3 separate regions of the Homo sapiens genome follow, and regions 2 and 3 are each linked to region 1. Evidence: promoter capture Hi-C in 16 types of primary human blood cells and fetal thymus (Javierre and others, 2016). All regions are on one chromosome and are shown on one strand. Each heading gives the region's core, a stretch centred on a gene start or on the middle of the fragment in contact. The rest is flanking DNA. Distances are from core to core; before and after follow the strand shown. Region 1 holds the start of HPS6 (HPS6 biogenesis of lysosomal organelles complex 2 subunit 3). Region 2 overlaps ARMH3 (armadillo like helical domain containing 3). Region 3 overlaps ARMH3 (armadillo like helical domain containing 3).

Region 1 (4,764 bases), core at 1,048-3,547:
ATCTGTGGAGACTTTGTGTCAGGCTCTACTCTAAATATGAGGATAGGATACAAAAACAAAAGAAATCTATGTCAACTAAGAGCAACTGAAGGAGGAGCAGTTTGGGGCAGGAAGATGATGTTTAGGACATGTTGAGAATGAAATGTCTGTGAGATGAGACATCTTAGGCAGAAATAAATATTTAGTAGACATTTGGATGCTCTTTTTTTGTGTGGAGCTTAGCAGAGACGTCTGAGCTGTAGGCAAAAGAAAAAAATAAAGGGGCTCAAAGTGGAATCAGGATATAGGAGGAAGAGCACATTTAAAGGATGATGGAGGGGCCGGGTACAGTGGCTCACACCTGTAATTCTAACATTTTGAGAGGCTAAGGCGGGCAGATCACTTGAGGCCTGGAGTTCGAGACCAGCCTGGCCAACCAACATAGCAAAACCCGACCTCTACTAAAAATATAAAAAGTAGCTGGGCATGGTGGTGCACTTCTGAAATCCCAGCTACTAGGGAGGGAGGCTTAGGCAGGAGAATCGCTTGAACCTGGGACATGGAGATAGCAGTGAGCCGAGATTGCGCCACTGCACTTCAACCTGGGCAACGGAGCAAGACTCTGTCTCAATAAATAAATAAATAGGCCAGGCACGGTGGCTCATGCCTGTAATCCCAGCACTTTGGGAGGCCAAGGCATGTGGATCACGAGGTCAAGAGATCAAGACCATCCCGGCCAGCAAGGTGAAACCCTGTCTCTACTGAAAATACAAAAATTAGGTGGGCGTGGTGGTGGGTGCCTCTAATCCCAGCTACTCGGGAGGCTGGGCAGGAGAATCGCTTGAACCCAGGAGGCAGAGGTTGCACTGAGCCAAGATGGTGCCACTTCACTCAAACGTGGGCGACAGAGTGAGACTCTATCTCAATCAATCAATCAATAAAGGATGGAGGAAGATGAACCAAAGGCAAATAAAACTCTGAAGGCAGTGCTATCTAAAAATAAAAATAAAAAAATAAAATAAAATAAAAGGAAAGGAAAACCAGCCAGGAAAGATGCAGTGCAAACCACAGGAGGGACTTTCAATGAGAAGGCTGTCAAATAAAAATGTCCTTGAAGACCTCAGCAAAAGCTACTTCAGGGAAGTAGTGGGTTGAGGATAGAAGGAAAGAAAGTGGAGGTGGCAAATGTAGCATCCTTGCAAGAAAATTGACTGAGAAAGGAAAAGGGGAGGGAGTGATGGAGGTGGAAGTGGGGAGATGAGGATGAAAGAACGAATTCCAAGACAGGAGAGATGACAGGGTATTTCTATGCTGAGGACGGAATGAGGGCAGTGAAACAGAAATGGATGCAAGTTCTCAAGGAAGGTAGGGGCCGGGGAGGAGAGGCAGGGCTCATAAAGAGGGATTGGCCTTGGAGAGAGGAGGAAAACTGCTCACCTGAAAAGGCAGTCAAGGGGTGGAAGGACCCCTGCATACAAATTTGTAGGTGTTACTGAAGAGTCGGTACACAGGCTCAGTGCTTCTAAATTATGTTTCTCTGTTTTGGTTTGGGTGATGAGTTGTTGATATGATAAAGTGATTTGTTGCACTGACTCTGGAGCCAGAGTGCCTGTGGTTGAAATCCCACCTCCACCACTTAATACCTGCTTGATCTTAGTTAAGTTACGTAATCTCTCTGTGCTTCATCCTCCTTATCTGTAAAAGGGACTAGGGGATAGAGAAGGCTGTCACATAGTGATATGGAAGTGGTTTTCTTTCCTTCCTTCCTTCTCTCTCTCTCTCTTTCTTTCTTTCTGTCTTTTTAAAATTTTTATAGAGACAAGGTCTGCCTATGTTGCTCAGGCTGGTCTCGAACGCCTGGCCTCAAGCAATCCTCCCACCTCAGCCTCCCAAAGTGCTAAGATTATAGGCGTGAGCCACCGCGCCCAGCCATGTTTACTATTTCCACTAGATTGTCATCTCCATGAGGTTGAGGTTTTCTATTTTGTTTAGGGCTGTCTACTCAGAGCCTGGCACAAAGCATGTGCTCAACGAAAATTTCCTGAATGAGTAAATTGGGGTGAAATTCTTGGGAGAGGGGCTCAGGGGGCTGGAATCCCTATTCCTGCGTGGGACTCCGGGCCACTGGGCGGCGTCCTGGGGTCTGGGGAAGGGCCTCCCCCTGCGCCGAGAGCGTGCCCGGGCGGGCGCGGTCCAGGCGCTGAGCCCCTGGGGCGCTCCCGTGGCTCCTCCCCCGGCGGGCGTGTAGTGTCGGCCCAGCGACTGCGGGAGGCATCCCGGAGCCGGCCGGGCGGGGCGGAGTCGACGCTCGGCCCGGCCTCTGCTCACCTCATCCACGGGAGACGGAAGTCTTGGCCCTGCTCCGCTCCCCCGAGAATCGGGCCTCGCCCTGCTGGGCGGCTGGACCTGGGCAAAGCCTGGGCGCGCTCCCGCGCAGCGGCGCCATGAAGCGCTCGGGGACTCTGCGGCTGCTCTCGGACCTGAGCGCCTTCGGCGGCGCGGCGCGGCTCCGGGAGCTGGTGGCCGGGGACTCAGCGGTCCGAGTCCGTGGCAGTCCGGACGGCCGCCACTTGCTGCTCCTGCGACCCCCTGGGGCGGTAGCCCCACAGCTGCTAGTCGCGTCGCGAGGGCCCGGCGCGGAGCTAGAGCGGGCCTGGCCGGCCGGCCAGCCCTCCCCGCTGGACGCCTTCTTCCTGCCGTGGCCAGCGCGGCCGGCGCTGGTGCTGGTGTGGGAGAGTGGCCTGGCCGAGGTGTGGGGCGCGGGCGTGGGGCCTGGCTGGCGGCCGCTGCAGAGCACCGAGCTGTGTCCGGGCGGGGGAGCCCGCGTTGTGGCAGTGGCGGCGCTCCGAGGCCGCCTGGTGTGGTGCGAGGAGCGGCAGGCCCGGGCCGAGGGCCCGTCAGGGTCGCCAGCAGCCGCTTTCAGCCACTGTGTGTGCGTCCGGACTCTGGAGCCCAGCGGGGAAGCTAGCACCAGCCTGGGCCGCACACACGTCCTGCTGCACCACTGCCCTGCCTTCGGGCTGCTGGCCTCCTGCAGACAACTCTTCCTGGTGCCCACTGCCACCACCTGGCCTGGCGTGGCCCACGTTCTACTCATCTGGAGCCCAGGCAAGGGCAAAGTGATGGTGGCTGCCCCACGGCTTGGTCTCTCCTACAGTAAGAGTCTGAATCCTGGACGAGGGGACACATGGGACTTCCGGACCCTGCTCCGAGGCCTTCCTGGGTTGCTGTCCCCCAGGGAGCCACTGGCTGTACACACCTGGGCCCCAACTCCCCAGGGCCTGCTGTTGCTTGACTTCGGGGGCACTGTGAGCCTATTGCAGTCCCACGGTGGTACGCGGGCTGTGGGCACCCTGCAGGAGGCACCTGTAGGCCCGTGGGGGTCTGCAGCCCTAGGCACATTTCAGGGCACTCTGGCCTGTGTGCTGGGCTCCACATTGGAACTGCTGGACATGGGCAGTGGGCAGCTGCTGGAGAGGAAGGTCCTAAGTACAGACAGGGTACATCTGCTAGAACCGCCAGCCCCCGGCATGGAGGATGAGGAAGAGCTGGAGACCCGAGGGAATCTTCGTCTGCTTTCAGCCTTGGGTCTGTTTTGTGTGGGCTGGGAAGCCCCACAGGGTGTTGAGTTGCCTTCAGCCAAGGATCTGGTGTTTGAGGAGGCCTGCGGGTACTACCAGCGGCGGAGCCTGCGGGGTGCCCAGCTCACTCCAGAAGAACTGAGACACAGCAGCACATTCCGGGCACCTCAGGCTCTGGCCTCCATCCTCCAGGGCCACCTGCCCCCATCTGCACTGCTGACCATGTTGAGGACCGAGCTTCGGGATTACCGAGGCTTAGAACAGCTGAAGGCCCAGCTGGTGGCTGGGGATGATGAGGAGGCTGGTTGGACTGAGCTGGCGGAGCAGGAAGTGGCACGCCTGCTGAGGACTGAGTTGATAGGAGACCAGCTAGCCCAGCTCAACACCGTTTTCCAAGCCCTTCCTACAGCAGCCTGGGGTGCCACCCTCAGGGCCCTGCAGCTCCAGCTAGATGGGAATGGCAAGCTGAGGTCCCAAGCACCCCCTGATGTGTGGAAGAAAGTGTTAGGGGGAATAACCGCTGGAAAGGAACCCCCCAATGGAATACTGCCCCCCTTTGAACTCCTGTGCCAGTGTCTGTGCCAGCTGGAGCCTCGATGGCTGCCACCCTTTGTGGAGCTGGCACAGCAGCAGGGCGGGCCGGGCTGGGGGGCAGGGGGCCCAGGACTGCCCCTGTATCGCCGAGCTCTGGCAGTGCTAGGTGAGGAGGGGACCAGGCCTGAGGCTCTGGAGCTAGAGCTGCTCTTGAGCAGTGGGCGGCCTAAAGCTGTGCTCCAAGCTGTCGGGCAGCTGGTGCAAAAGGAACAATGGGATCGGGCTCTGGATGCTGGCCTGGCCCTCGGCCCCTCCAGTCCCCTGCTTCGAAGTGAAATCTTCAAACTGCTGCTGGCCGAGTTTGCCCAGCACCGCCGGCTTGATGCTCACCTCCCCCTCCTTTGCCGCCTGTGCCCACCAGAACTGGCTCCAGCTGAGCTCCTGCTTCTACTGAGGACATACCTCCCAGATGAGGTGGGGCCCCCAACCCCATTCCCTGAGCCTGGAGCAGAGCCCCCTCTCACTGTGGGCTTGCTCAAAGCCCTGCTGGAGCAGACTGGGGCTCAAGGATGGCTGTCGGGCCCAGTTCTAAGCCCATATGAGGACATCCTATGGGACCCCAGCACTCCACCCCCGACTCCACCTCGGGACCTATGACTACCCTTCAGGC
Region 2 (4,764 bases), core at 896-3,395, 190 kb before region 1:
GTGAGATGTTGTTAGCACAGGAAAAATTTACAGCTCTAACTTTTCATATTAGAAAATAAGATCTAAAATCAATGACCTAAATTTCTACCTTATGAAATTAGAAAGAGAGCAAATTAAATCAAAGCAAACAGAAGGAAATAATACAGATAACCATATAAATCAATGAAAAGGAAAAATAACAGGCTGGGCATAGTGGTAACACCTGTAATCCCAGCACCTTGAGAGGCTGAGGGGGGTGGATCACTTGAGCTCAAGAGTTTGAGACCAGCCTGAGCAACATGGCAAAACTCCATCTCTACAAAAAATACAAGAATTAGCTAGGTGTGGTGGCGGAAGCCTGTAGTCCCAGATACTCAGGAGGTTGAAGCCAGAGGATCACTTGATCCTGGGAAGTGGAGGCTGCAGTGAGCAGAGATTGCGCCACTGCACTCCAGCCTGGGTGACGAAGTGAGATCCTGTCTTAAAAAGAAAACAAAAGAAAAATAACAGAAAACCAATGAAACTAAAAGCTAATTCTTTGAAAGATTAATAAAATTGACAAACCTCTAACCAGGCTGATAAGCAACAGAAGAGAAAAGACACACATTACTCATATCATGAATTTGAGAGGGCATCACTATAAATCCTACAGGGATTTCAAGGAACAGGGAGAATTTTATGAACGAATTATGCCAATAAATTCAACAACCTACATAAATGAATAACTTCCTTGAAGACACAAATGATTAAAACTGGTTCAAGAACAAGTAGTAAACTGACTATTCCTAAATCTATTAAAGAAATTCAACTAACAATTAAAATGTTTTCCACAGAAGTATACTGATATATGCATTTTACTTTGAAACACATTAAAAAAAGATGGATTGATGGATGGAGATCTATCCTATGGGTTATACATGTGATAAAGCAAGTAGAGTGAAATGTAAATAACAGAATTTAGGTGAGGGTTATGTGGCTATTCACCATATAATTTTTTCCAACTTTACTATATGTTTGAAATTTTCCCTAATAAAATATTGGGTATAAATTCTTCCCACAAAGAAAACTATAGGTCCAGATGACTTCACTGATTATGCTACTAAACATTAAGCAAGAAATAAAACCAATCCTATACAAACTCTTTTTAAAAACAGGGGAGGAAGGAATACTTCCCCAACTCATTTTTTAAGAGCAATATTACTCTAATACCCAAACCAAACAAAGACATCACAAGAAAACAATGAACTTTGGGAGGCCTGGTAGCCTGTAGTCCCAGCTACTCAGGAGGCTGAAGTGGGAGGATCACCTGAGCCCGACGAGGTTGACGCTGCAGTGAGCTGTGATCATGCTACTGTACTCTAGCCTGGATGACAGAGTAAGACCCTGTCTCAAAAAAACCCAAACAACAAACAAACAACCAAAAAACCCAAAAATCTAATAAATAAGTTTATCAAGGATGCAGGAAAAAAAAGTCAATTAAAAAACAAGTATATTTCCATAAACTAGCAACAAACGACTGGAAATTGAAATTTAAAATACCATTTACATGACATAAAAATGAAATATTTAGGGATAAATTGAGCAAAATAGGCATAAAACAAGTACACTACGAAACACTGACAAAAATTTTAACAGACCTAAATAAATGGAGAGGTATATTATGTTTACTCCATTATGGATATGAAAACAGTATTATTAAAAGTATCAATTCTCTTCCAAGTCATCTATAGAGTTAATGCAATTCTAATCAAAATCTCACCAGTCTTTTTGCAGAAACAAGCTAATTTTATACAGAAATGGAAAGGACCTAGAATATTCAAAAACATTTAAAAAAAACAAAATTAGAGGGTTAGCTGATTTCAAGATTTATTATAGACATACAATAATCAAGACATGGTAGACCATAAATTTAGACGTATAGACCAATGGAACAGAACTGACGGTCCAGAAATAAACTGCACATACATGTTCAATTGATTTTTTTTTACAATGCGCCTAAGTACCTCAATGGAGAAAGAGTAGTCTTTTCAACAAATGGCAACATAACTGAATATTTGGCGGGGGGGAAAGAACATTTACCACACACCATAAAAAAGGTTAATTTGAAATGAATCACAGAACTAAATGTAAAAGCCAGAATTACAAAACTTACAGAAGAAAATACAACGAGGCCGGGTACAGTGGCTCACACTTGTAATCCCAGCACTTTGGGAGGCCGAGGTGGGTGGAACACTTGAGGCCAGGAGTTCAAGACCAGCCTGGTCAACATGGTGAAACCCTGTTTCTACTAAATATACAAAAATTAGCTGGGTGTGGTGGTGCACGCTTGTAATCCCAGCTGCTCAGGAGGCTGAGGCATGAGAATTGCTTGAACCCGGAGGCAGAGGTTGCAGTGAGCCGAGAATGTGCCACTGCACTCCAGCTTGGGCGACAGAGTAAGACTCTCAAAAAAAAAGAAAAAAAGAAAGTACAATGAACATTTTTGCAACCAGAAGTAGGCAGAGATTTATTAAATAAAACACAAAAGCATGACTCCTTTAAAAAGTAAATTAATCTTCATGAATATCTACTTAAGTTAAAATTGATCTTAAAAATATCTAGTATTTGAAAGACATCACTGAGAATATGCAAAGAAAAATGGCAAGCTACTGACTTGGAGAAAATATTTAGAGAGTGTGTGTGTGTGTGTCTGTGTAACAACGTGTGTGTGTGTGTGTGTGTGTGTAACAACCTGCATCAAAAATATATAAAAACTCATAAATAATACAATTTAAGAAAAGAAGAACAACCAAATTTTAAAAATAGGTAAATGATCTGGACACTTCACAAAAGAAGATATATAATGGCCACATAAAAAGCTGCTCTAGCCGGGCACAGTGGCTCATGTCTGTAATCCCAGCACTTTGGGAGGCCAAGGTGGGTGGATCACTTGAGGTGAGGAGTTCAAGACCAGCCTGACCAATATGGTGAAAACCCGTCTCTACTAAAAATACAAAAATCAGCTGGACGTGGTGGCACGCACCTGTGGACCCAGCTAACTCAGGAGGCTGAAGCAGGAGAATCACTTGAACTTGCTCTAGTCATCATGCAAATTAAAACTAATAATATTAAAAAGTTGTAATAAGTGGCTGGGCATGGTGGCTCATCCCTGTAATCCCAGCATTTTGGGTAGCCAAGGCAGGTGGATCATCTGAGGTCAGGAGTTCAAGACCAGCCTGGCCAACATGGTGAAACCCCATCTCTACTAAAAATACAAAAATTAGCCAGGTGGGGTGGTAGGCGCCTGTAATCCCAGCTACTCGGGAGGCTGAGACAGGAGAATTGCTTGAACCCAGGAGGTGAAGATTGCAGCGAGCCGAGATCACGCCACTGCACGCCAGCATGTGTAACATAGCAAGACTCCATCCCAAAAAAGAAAAAAAAAAAGCTGTAATAAGTATACTACATACCCAATGGCTAAAATTAAAGACTCATAATTCCCAGTGTGGCAAAGACATGGTGTAGTTGGAACTTTCGTATGTTCGTTGATTGGAATGAGAAATGGTAGAACCACTTTTGAAAACAGCGTGGCAGGCCGGGCACAGTGGCTCACGTCTGTAATCCCAGCACTTTGGGAGGCCGAGGTGGGCGGATCATGAGGTAAGGAGTTCAAGACCAGCCTGACCAACATAGTGAAACCCCGTCTCTACTAAAAATACAAAAAAAAAAAAAAATTAGCTGGGCGTGGTAGTGTGCACCTGTAATCCCAACTGCTCAGGAGGCTGAGGCAGGAGAATCATTTGAACCCAGGAGGCAGAGGTTGCAGTGAGCCGAGATCGCGCCACTGCACTCCAGCCTGGGGGACAGGGCAAGATTCTGTCAAAAAAACAAAACAAAACAAAAACAAACAAAAAACCCAGCGTGGCAGTTTCTTTTTTTCTTTCAACATATTTATTGAGATATAGTTTATATATTATAAAATTCATTCGCTTAAAGTGTACAATTCAATGATTTTAGTATATTCACACAGTTACGTAACTATTACCATGATCTAAGTTTAAAACACTTTTATCAACCCAAAAAGAAATCCCGTACTCATTAGCAGTCCCTCCCCACCCTGCTCCCCACCTGTAGCCCAAGCAACCACTAATCTACTTTCTGTCTCTATAGATTTTCTGGGCATTTCAAATAAAAGAAATCACACAATATGTGGTCTTTTGTGACTGTTTCTTTCACTTATCATAATGTTTTTGAGAGTGATCCATGTTGTAACATGTATCAGTACCTCCTTCTTTTTTTATGGCTGAATAATATTCCATGGTATGAATGAATCACACTTTGTTTATTCATTCAACTGCTAATGGACATTTAGGTTGTTTCTACTTTTTGGTCATCCTAAATAATACCGCTATGAACATCTGTGTACAGATCTTTGGGTGGATATATATTTTCATTTCTCTTGAGTAAACACCCAAGGAGTGTCATGATGTATATGAATCTCAGAAAGAAGACATAAAAGAGTACATATTGCATTAGTTTATTTATATAAAATTTTTAAAAAGACAGATCTACTCTACAGTGAAAATAATCATATCAGCCGTTGTCTATGGCCCAGACTTGGGGTGAGGACTGACTGCAAAGTGGTATAAGAGAACATTTTTTGGGTGATGGAAATGTTCTACATCTTGATTGTGGTGGTGGTTACATAAACATATTTTATTATATGTTAATTATACCTCAATAAAGTTAAATTTAAAAGTCCAGCAAATCAGGACTAGTCAAAAAAAAAATGTATGGCCATGGGCA
Region 3 (4,764 bases), core at 1,123-3,622, 180 kb before region 1:
AAAAAATTAGCTGAGCGTGGTGGTGGGTGCCTGTAATCCCAGCTACTAGGGAGGCTGACGCAGGAGAATTGATTGAACCCGAGAAGCAGAGGTTGCGGTGAGCCAAGATCGCGCCATTGCACTCCAGCCTGGGCAACAAGGGCAAGACTCCATCTCAAAAAAAAAAAGGGGGTTAAAATGGTAAATTTTATGTTATGTATATTCTACCACATATAAAAAAAAAAGAGGTAAAAATGAACAAGCTTCACAATTAACCCCAGACAAATATAGCACCTGCATATATACCATAAAAATACATACAGTTTATTACATTAAAAAAATGTATGACCAGGCTGGGTGCAGTGGCTCATGCCTGTAATGCCAGCACTTTGGGAGGCTAAAGCAGGTGGCTCATTTGAGGTCAGGAGTTCAAGACCAACCTGGCAAACATGGCGAAACCCTACTTAAAAAAAACAAAAATCAGCCAGGCATGGTGGCATGCACCTCTAATCCCAGCTACCTGGGAGGCTGAGGCAGGAGAATCGCTTGAACCCAGGGGACAGAGGCTGCAGTGAGCCAAGATCGTGCCACTGTACTCCAGCCTGGGTGACAGAGTGAGACTCTGTCTCAAAAACAAACAAACAAAAAAGAATGATCCTTCAGTCACATTGAGGGTATCAACTGATTAAAAACTTTATCACGAATGATGAAGCCAATGACAATTAACAAAAAAATGTCATTTACCTTCTGGATGTCTGAAAAGAAACCCCAGTGTGAAAGGCTGGGCTTTGTTTAATATGCAATAATGGATTTACAAGTACCACCTTGAAATGCCTCAAACAGAGGCTGGAATGTGTCTAGGGGTTGTCAGAATTCAAGAATTCACAAATCTCTTTGCCAGAAAAAAATGGCAGGCTGGGCAGGCAGACATAGGAAAGTGCCCTGTCTTCTCTGCTAACTTACTAAATGTAACAAATTCCATTTAACATCTATCCATGCTCTTTAGGTTTTATTTTAGGGGTACTTTAGAATCTATTGAGGATTAAGTTCTTGACTTTTTTCTCTACTCAGTCTGCTGCTAACAACTGCAGGGCCCTACTGCAATCCATAAAACTAGCTCTTTGAGAGGCCATGAATACTGTTAACATTAAGTGACATTCACATTAATGCTCATAAGTGAAGGGAGAGAAGTGCTCCAACACATGCTGGAGATTAACAAGGCAGTCAAATACCTCTAATCTGATAGTGCTGAGAATAAACCAAGTGTACTGTAATGCTGTCATTTAGCACCCTTCAAAATCAGTTAGAGAAGAGAAGCAACAACTATTTTGAGGGTGGCTCTCAAGAAGGTCCCAGAATAGTATCACCCTCCTCCAAACCCCCAAGTGAAAAGGACTATTAAAAGAGGTAATGAGTACACAAAGACTCCATGAGAGCAATGACTAAGATTATTCACCACTGATCCCCACTTACCTTAGCACCACAACTTATATTATAGAAGGTATACAATAATAATGATAATTATTATTATTACTATTATTTTGAGACAGGGTCTCATTGTCACCCAGGCTGGAGTGCAGTGGCATGATCACAGCTTACTGCAGCTTCAACCTCCCTGGGTTCACCTCAGCTCCCACCTCAGCCTCCCAAGTTGCTGGGACTACAGGTGCACACCACCACGTCTGGCTAATTTTTCTTTCTCTCTCTCTCTCTTTTTTTTTTTTTTTTTTTTTTTGTAGAGACAGCTTCACCATGTGGTACAGGGTGGTCTTGAATTCCTGGGCTCAAGCAATCTGCCCACCTCAGCCTCCCAAAGTGCTGGGATTACAAGTGTGAGCCACCGCACCCAGCAGGTATACAATTACATATTGACCAAGTAAATCAATCTTGCTATCCTTTCCCCATTCTCCTATGAAATCCCTCTCCATTGAAATCGCTTCGTCTCTGGCCTGCGCACTCTTTTTGAGAGGCACTTTCATCATTTCATTTAACTTTGAAAGAAGTTGGAGGAGGCTGAGGACACGTGCTTGCTAATCATCCTTTCACAGATTGCCTTGTGTGCCAGAAAGGATTTTTATTATTGGTCTGTGGCAGCTACTGCTGGAGAAAGATTTCAGCTTGACCTTCCCAAGCTGCTGGGGGATGAATACTGCACGTGGCTGACAGAGTAAATGTCTCCTTTTTTTTTTTTTTAAAAAAAAAAAAAAGCTTTTAGACTAACCAGAGCTCACTGTGGTAGGAAAGTCACCCCTTCTCTTACTGCATAAAACTCAAGATGTTGAATTATTTTGCATAAAAATGATATAGTAAAATTAATGTGAACTAGTCCAACAAGAAAATGGTAGCATCACAAAGCACCTCACAGACAGCACAGCATCAAAGAACAGGATTCAGGATAGCTCCACAGGCAGAGAGGAAAAAAGGAAATGAAGGCCATTTATAAAAGCAGTTTTAAATGTGAGGATGGATTCTCACAGCTGGGCTCACAAAAGAGAACAAATATGTCAAAGGGAACAACTGACAGACTAATAGAGTCCTATCCATCTGGCTGAGAAAAGAGCCACTGGTGGGAATACTGAGAAGCTTGTCTATTAGGAAAAAGGCTTGCTTGGTGCTTCACTGGGAGAACTGAATAGCTTTGAGGAACACTGAAACACATGGTCAAATCATAGCTGGCTGGCTGGCTCTGCCAGCAAGAAGCTCAAACAAGGGTTACAAAGATGCACTGGCAAAAAAGGAAGAACAGGGCACATATGGTCTTCCTACTGGCTTGGGGTCTATACCCTGGCCCCTCCAATTTGGGAGTAGGATGAAAAGGAAAGGGAACCATGTGAATAGGATGTCTTATTTAGTGCTTTTTAAAAAAGGACTCAAGAGTTTCATTTTGACACATCAAGTTCAATCCCATGCCACGCTAACGCCTCATCTGTACTTTTATATAATGCAGAGCTGAGTGCAGGCACTCTGGGAGAAGGGGAAATCAGGCCAGATTTAAAGAAAACAAAGACACAAGGCTATCTGCATCTCTAACTCAGTCCATACCACAGAAAAACCTCCTCAAAAATAATTGCTCAAGGCAAAGAGAACTCAATTACTAAGGAAAATCTGTCCCAATGAGGGCTCATGTTTTAACGAGCCAAATAGCTTCAAATTAAGCTGAACTCAGGGTTTTTCTAATTGGCAGTTTCATCCATTTCTAAGTTCTCATTTCTTATTTTCAAAAATCAAAATGACTCTCTGCCTAAAATTTTAAAAAAAGAAATGCCTTATCACACTCTAAAACAAATAATTCACCAGATTTTCACCTACATATCTTCTATATAATTAACAAACCCTTCAGATGGCACAAACGCAGACAGCATCACTCTGTATTAAAAGTACTATCAACCAACCCCACACTAATTCCTCTCAGCAGCCTGGCCCTGGTCACTACCACAAAAGCTCAGTCACAGAATCCCCCTGCCATCAGAGAGAAGGCAACTGCTTGATCCTAGCCACCAACTAGGTCATCTGGGGAAAGTAGTGGCTTACCTGCTCCTCTGACAGTTGGGATATGTGATTCACAGCAGCGTAGGACTCAATTTTGGGGTTAAAGTGGTTGATGATGGCTCTGAAACAAAGAATTCGTATTAATATGGTGCCAGATAGAAGAGGTGGATACATCTGTTAAAAAATAAGGATCAAGTACCCTCTGGTTTAGAGTACTAGAGCATGGGACCGATTGTGACTGGGTAACTTCCTCTTATTGAACATGAGGTAGTCACAAATGGGGGTGAATTGATAACTCTGAAGTGGGAAGGATTTACTATTAGACAGAAAATAGAATCAAGCATCTCTGCTCTGCAAATGAACTAACGGAAAAAACCCAAAGCCAAACAAAAATATTGAGTCCTTCAGATGAGAAAGGGAACCCAGAGGGCTGTCCACTAGGGGGCCCTGGTGCTTCAATCAGAAAGAAAAGCTGTCTTGTCTGACTTGGGAGAACAGGGCACTCAGTAAAGCTGGGCCAACAACATATAGGCTAAATAGAAGCAATCTTCATACTTGTTAGTAAATAGTTTCAAACCAAAATTTTATATCCGGCCATTCAACCCAAAAGCTGAGTGTCATTTTAAAACACTCCCTTCTCCATCACTTAGTCACATCCAAAATTACCTAGTCTTATCAAATCTACCTCTTAAAAATCTCTGAAATCTGAAATAAATTTCCCTGAAACCAGTGCCTTGGTATAGGTCTTTGTCATTTCTTGCCTGGTGTAGCAAAAAGAACACAGGTTTTAGATCAGGGTTTTACATGAGTCCATATGAATATAAATGATTCATAGAGAGAGACAAATCTCTTTTTTTCATATATATATATATATTTATTTATATTTATATTTTAGACAGGGTGTCACTCTGTTACCAAGTCTGGAATGCAGTGGCACAATCATGGCTCACTGCATCCTTAACCTCCCAGGCTCAAGCGATCCTCCCACCTAAGCCTCCCTAGCAGCTGGGACTACAGGCATGTGCCAGCATGCCCGGCTAATTATTTTTGTATTTTGTTGGTAGAAACACGGTTTTGCCATGTCGCCCAGGCTCAAGCCTGGGCTCAAGCAATCCACAGGTCTCCACCTCCCAAAGTGCTGGGATTATAGACATGAGCCACAGCGGCTGGCCAACAAATCTTTCTCATAGAACAATTTCAAATAATATATGTAGATACTTCTCCCTATAGGAAATGAAGTTTATTTCTCATTCCTGAGGGTGGGCTAGATTTAGTGATTTATTGCCAAAGACTAGA

What was found. The method cuts DNA at HindIII sites, captures the fragments that hold promoters and counts their contacts. A CHiCAGO score of 5 or more calls a contact.
Region 2: a fragment that was not itself captured here is called in contact with the fragment with the promoter of HPS6 in region 1 in 1 of 17 cell types (erythroblasts); the score reaches 5.3 in erythroblasts.
Region 3: a fragment that was not itself captured here is called in contact with the fragment with the promoter of HPS6 in region 1 in 1 of 17 cell types (erythroblasts); the score reaches 5.2 in erythroblasts.

Annotation. Positions count from the first base shown.
Region 1 is chr10:102,063,052-102,067,815 of GRCh38, forward strand. It overlaps HPS6 (HPS6 biogenesis of lysosomal organelles complex 2 subunit 3), which reads left to right and starts at 2,298. Exons shown (of 1, transcript NM_024747.6): 1 at 2,298-4,764. The coding sequence starts at 2,424. The coding sequence ends at 4,751. RefSeq lists an enhancer at 1,790-1,839 and a silencer at 2,050-2,719. The HindIII fragment of the contact is 26,306 bases long and covers 1-4,764 here.
Region 2 is chr10:101,869,571-101,874,334 of GRCh38, forward strand. All of the region lies in intron 24 of ARMH3 (armadillo like helical domain containing 3), which reads right to left. The region is part of intron 2 of LOC101927445 (a long non-coding RNA gene); the gene reads left to right. Among named protein-coding and RNA genes, the nearest start is that of KCNIP2, 28 kb to the left of the region's middle. The HindIII fragment of the contact is 5,243 bases long and covers 1-4,764 here.
Region 3 is chr10:101,885,902-101,890,665 of GRCh38, forward strand. It overlaps ARMH3 (armadillo like helical domain containing 3), which reads right to left. Exons shown (of 26, transcript NM_024541.3): 24 at 3,511-3,589. Among named protein-coding and RNA genes, the nearest start is that of KCNIP2, 44 kb to the left of the region's middle. The HindIII fragment of the contact is 375 bases long and covers 2,186-2,560 here.